Regions from separate parts of the Homo sapiens genome. Here region 1 is linked to region 2. The links are contacts of gene promoters, found by promoter capture Hi-C in blood cells and fetal thymus (Javierre and others, 2016). All regions are on one chromosome and are shown on one strand. Each heading gives the region's core, a stretch centred on a gene start or on the middle of the fragment in contact. The rest is flanking DNA. Distances are from core to core; before and after follow the strand shown. Region 1 overlaps C1orf116 (chromosome 1 open reading frame 116). Region 2 holds the start of IKBKE-AS1 (IKBKE antisense RNA 1).

Evidence for each region. Contacts are between HindIII fragments. The CHiCAGO score rates a contact against its expected background, and 5 or more counts as called.
Region 1: a fragment that was not itself captured here is called in contact with the fragment with the promoter of IKBKE-AS1 in region 2 in 1 of 17 cell types (non-activated CD4 T cells); the score reaches 5.5 in non-activated CD4 T cells.

Annotation. Positions count from the first base shown.
Region 1 is chr1:207,027,624-207,030,323 of GRCh38, forward strand. It overlaps C1orf116 (chromosome 1 open reading frame 116), which reads right to left. Exons shown (of 4, transcript NM_023938.6): 2 at 1-56. Among named protein-coding and RNA genes, the nearest start is that of C1orf116, 3.8 kb to the right of the region's middle. The HindIII fragment of the contact is 2,120 bases long and covers 284-2,403 here.
Region 2 is chr1:206,496,437-206,499,136 of GRCh38, forward strand. It overlaps IKBKE-AS1 (IKBKE antisense RNA 1), which reads right to left and starts at 1,292. Exons shown (of 2, transcript NR_172918.1): 1 at 1,158-1,292. IKBKE (inhibitor of nuclear factor kappa B kinase subunit epsilon) reads left to right here. Exons shown (of 22, transcript NM_014002.4): 22 at 1-453. RefSeq lists an enhancer at 1,237-1,386. The HindIII fragment of the contact is 9,082 bases long and covers 1-2,700 here.

The DNA of each region.
Region 1 (2,700 bases), core at 94-2,593, 530 kb after region 2:
CAAAGGGGGCTTCTAGAGGGGAAGCGAGGGGAAGTGAACAATGTCCCAAGCCGGGCCTGAAAAGAGAAGAATCAAAGCCACACATGAGCCGAGGCTTCGGCAAGGCTCTGCCCAGGCCCTGGGCGGCATGGCGGGAAGGACACCAAGCAAGCAGAGAGCTGGAAGGGGGGCATGAACAGCCACTGCCCGACACCCCCGGCCTGCATGGAAGGACCCTGAAGCTGGCTTAAATACATGCAGAAGGACAGACTTAGTTGGTGGAGAGGCAGTCTAGTCAGAAAGAAGCTTCTACTACTTCTCTTACATTTTTCTCTGAACCAAGGAGCTTAATCTACATTTTCATTACTATAAGCAATAAATATTACAGGCGTCAATACCTTGGGTTCTGGAGTTAGTTGGGTCTGGGCTCAAATCCCAGTTTAGCCATTTACAGTTATGTGACTTGGGGCAAATTACTCTGAGTCTGTTTTTCCTCATTAAATAATGTTAGTATAAGGATTAAATGAGAGAACAGTTAGCACAGTTTAGTTGGTAGTAAATACCCTAAGACCTCATGAGTCAATAATTAACTATTATTGTTCTTGTAACAAGAAAAAGACAAGATCTATCTAGGATCAAACTAAATTGAAACAAGAGAAACAGGATCTCAGAAAAGAAGGGTTCTGGTTTGATGGGAGACTGTAGACTTGAGAGAAGAAACAGGTCCCTTAATAATACCTACCTCATGGGGTTATTGTGAGAACGTTTAAAACACTTTGCACAGAGCAAATTGTCACCTGCTATCACAGTCAATATCATCAACATCATCACAACCACCGCTACGATACCCATCTTTAACTCCCTAGCCTGGAGGCATGAACAGGGCACCTGCAGTGGTTGACACAAACCTATTTTCTTTCTAGTGAATCTCTTTCTTTCTAGTGCCTCTGTTGTTGCACACATTCCCAATGAGATTCCCTAGCCTATGTCAAATGAACAAGAGAAATGTCCCATGTAGCTTCCTCCCAACTCTAATTCCTTAGGGAAAAAAAGTTTCAATGTCATTGTAACAATAGTAGTAGCAAAGGAAGGCAGTGCCATCTTCCCTCTGAAAGTCCCAAGGATTTTGATGTGGCTGTTTGTGGGAAATACTCCACTGGAGATGGCAGGCCAGAAGTGAGTCTGCTATGTTAAAATGAAATTCTAAAAGAATTAAGATGAAAAGACAGTTCCAAGATCAAACAGAGAGTTGGAGGAGAGCCAGAATTAGAATAAAGTTTGTCTGATTCTAAATCCATATTTTCCTTATAATGCCATCCTATATTTTCTTTCATCTTTCCAACCCTCCCAACACTAGGTAAAATGTCCTAGAAGAAAACGTGATCTATTTGAGATCTGGAGGCTTGGGCTTTGGATGCCAGGGCAGATGTCCTCTTGGCCTCTGGTAATAATTGCTTCCAGTGCCAAAGTCAAGTTTGGGCTGGGTTGGGTGAGTCAGCTTTCCATCCCTATAGAGCTGGCAAGTATGGAGCCCCAAGGAGCTCCTCTTCTGCTTGGGAGGAGTCTCTTAAAAGGGGCAGGTATGGAGGGGCAGAACACTGGGGGGAAAACAGGAGAGATCCCTAGTGAGCCAGACATCTGGTTCATAGGGGTCCAGATCCTCCTAGGAGATAAGGAGGGGACTGGAGGGGCAGAGACACCAAAGAAGCCCAATGATAAATAAATGTGGGGTGAGGAAGCTCTTAGGGTTTCTTCATGAGGTTAGCTCCCCAATACCCAGAAGCTCAAAGAAACAGGAACATGAGAAATCATGTGGATGAAGTTCAGTCATCTCAGCTACCCACTCCATGAATGATGCCCAAGTTCAGGGAGGACTAACCCATTCCTAACATTGTGTAGGGTTGAGGCCACTATAGCAAAGGAGCTCCATCTCTGTGAGTCTAGGCACACAGAAAACACTCAAAAAATGCCGAATGAATGAACTTGCCATCTGTTCTAGGGTCTATTAGGTTGAGCTTTTGGAAGGCTTCTTCTTGGTTTCTAACCTATAACTGTCAGCTTTTACTTAAATACTTAATTTCCTGGATAATATATGGCTCAGTGAAATTTGGGCAATGTTTTCAGTTAAACTAACATTTATGAGCACCTAATAATAGGCGCTGGTGTTACAAAACTGTATAAGACAAAGGCATTGTTGTCAAAAAGTCAATGTAGATCTAAGGGTCTAGTTTTGGGCTCCAATTTTCTTCTCTGTAAAATCAGGGCAGTAAATATTTAAAGTGACTCACTGTAATTAACATCATATTCTCTATGAATGGGTGAGCAGATGCTGCCTCTTACTTTCAGAGAAAATTACTACCCTTGTGCTTCTAAGTATGCTTTAGACTTTACAGAGGTTTTCTAGTCTCTCTTTCCTACCAGGGAAGCTTATCACACTTTTGTTTCAGAACCTAGGATGTCTTCAAGTAGCTGGAAGAGATAAAAGTGGTAGGAAAAGCACTGCTTCACAAGAACACAGCATGCCATAGCTTGCAAAGTACTCTCAGATATGCTAATTCGATCTTCAGCATAAACTGGAAACATAGGCAGGATGTGACGTTTTCTTCATTTTACGGGTGAGAAAGTTATGGCTCTTACCACTAGCCCTTCCTAAGGGAAACAGGGAATGACCTATACATGCATATACAGGGCAGCCCTCCACAGGGCATTTCAGGGACTATC
Region 2 (2,700 bases), core at 42-2,541:
TGCCCATGGCTGGGCCGTGGGGAGAAGAAGCTCTCATACGCCTTCCCACTCCCTCTGGTTTATAGGACTTCACTCCCTAGCCAACAGGAGAGGAGGCCTCCTGGGGTTTCCCCAGGGCAGTAGGTCAAACGACCTCATCACAGTCTTCCTTCCTCTTCAAGCGTTTCATGTTGAACACAGCTCTCTCCGCTCCCTTGTGATTTCTGAGGGTCACCACTGCCAGCCTCAGGCAACATAGAGAGCCTCCTGTTCTTTCTATGCTTGGTCTGACTGAGCCTAAAGTTGAGAAAATGGGTGGCCAAGGCCAGTGCCAGTGTCTTGGGGCCCCTTTGGCTCTCCCTCACTCTCTGAGGCTCCAGCTGGTCCTGGGACATGCAGCCAGGACTGTGAGTCTGGGCAGGTCCAAGGCCTGCACCTTCAAGAAGTGGAATAAATGTGGCCTTTGCTTCTGTTTCTGGTGGCTCTCCCTGGGCTGTGTCTGCAAGGCAGGGCTCTCAGCTGGGTGTGCTTGGCAACCAAGTGGGGTCTGGGCGGGGATCTGTGAGAAGTGCTGGGAAATGGGGGTGGGAATTGGTCATGTCCTGATTTCTGCCTTTCCCCTAAATGGGCCCTAATTTCAAGGAAGAACCCAAGGGGTGCCTTCCCATTCCTTCCATTCTCTTGCCCCCGCATCATTTGGAAAGCTGTGTGAGGGGCCTGGAACTTAGGGAGAAAGGTATTCTTCTTTTTTTTTTTCCTTCAAACCCACCATCTAAGTGGCTACTGCTTTTTTCCCATCTCCACAGCTATTCAAAACCTAGGCTATGTCCTAAATAGTGGGTTTGAATAGTATTATGGGTTATTTTAAGCATTCCTTCATTTTGTCTAGAATCTAGAGTGGTGCCTGGGCAAGGCATTCTGACTTTTGCAAACTGCTTGCAAATTTACCTCCAGCCTTCCCATAAACCAGAGCTGGACTACCCACCTACCTGGGTGGGTGAAGGAAGGGGAAGGGGAAATGCAGTAAGGTAGCCCCAGTAGGAGAGAGAGACGAGTGGGAAGCCCCACTGTGTGCTTCGAAGCGTGAAGACAGCATTATGCTTGACTGGAAATAACCCCAGAGATCCTTCCTGTCCATCTTCATGGGAGCCCCCACATCCTGAGGCCACTCTACTCACCTGGTAGGGCCAGAAATGGGGAAGGGTGAGTCCTGGAGGCTTCTGTCCTCTGTGGTGCTTCTCTGTGCAAAGACCAGCACTCTAAAGGCCTGGGGGAAGGTGGCTGGAGGTTGTTTCCTTGCATCAGGTCCAAGTGGCTTTGTGTTTGTTATTTGGGCCTCAAGCCCGTGGAGTCACTTAAGCCCAGGGGTTCAAGTCCTGGGGCCTCAGAGACCAGCTGCCGCCTTGATGTTCCTGGGTACTAGACCACCTCTCGTCCACTCTGCTGGCCTGAATTTCTGGCCAACACTTCCAGCCCATGAGTGGCCCTTCAGGGAAGTCCCACAATGGGTTTTCCCTGGCAGCAACAGCTTGCAAAACCCCATGTGCTTGGTGGAGCTCAGTGAAGGAGCCAGGGGATCCCTGAATGCCAAATACAGATTTTTGGGAGATGATATGATCCAGGCTGTATGATCTCATGAGCAAAGCCTATGAGATGTGGCGGACAAACTCACTCAAAGGCTTCAGTTCAGTTGTTTTTTTTTTTTAATTTTCCTTCTTTTTTTTTTTTTGGCAGGGTTTTGCTCTGTTGCCCAGGTTGCAGTGGAATGGTATAATCTTGGCTCACTACAGCCTCGACTCACTGTAGTGATCAAGCGATCACCACTACTACTCACTGTAGGACCAAGCAATCCTCCTGCCTCAGCCTTCCAAGTAGCTGGGACTACAGGCGTGCACCACCACACCCAGCTAATTTTATATTTTTTGTAGAGATGAGGTCTCACTATGTTGCACAAGCTGGTCTTGAACTCCTGAGCTCAAGCAACCCTCCTTTCTTGGCCTCCCAAAGTGTTAGGATTACAGGCGTGAGCCACCACGCCCAGTGGCTTCAGTTCATTTCTATGCAAGGCAGAGCTGCTGACATCAGTGCCTCCCTGGATCTGAGGTTCTGCAGAGCTGCTGATTCCATCTCAGTAGGAAATGAGGAACTGGACCAAGACCCAGAACAACCCATAAGATCCTCAGGTGTCTGAAGACCTCTTTAATGTACCTCTCCATTCTCTGCAGTGATTCCTAACATAACACTTAAAATGAAAAGAGCCCATTCAGTTCACCAGACATGATCTGAGCCCTTACAGTGTACCAGGCCCACGGGATGCTGGAACTACAGAGGTGACTAAGCCACCTTTCTGGCTCATGGGGAGCTCACCTCTATGGGGGAAGACAGGTATGCCACAGATAGCTTCCCATCATGGAGGAGGTGCTATGCTAGGAATGCAAACATCCAGTGTGGTCCTGAGTCACCATCCTCACAGGGGAGGGTGCTTAGGTCAGGCTGGGAAACTTCCTAAGTGTCAGGGAGTGACTGAGAACAGGTGAATCCAAAGTGGTCTTAGCAGGTGAGCAGGTGATACCTAGCAAAGAAGGTGTGGGAGGCATTCCTGGCCGTGGGAGCAGCAGTGGCACAGGCATGGGAAGAGCTACTAGTATTTCTATATGACTGGAGAGTAGGTTAAAGTAGGATGCTGGTATTGTGGAAAGGGAGGAGCCAGTCCAAAAGGTC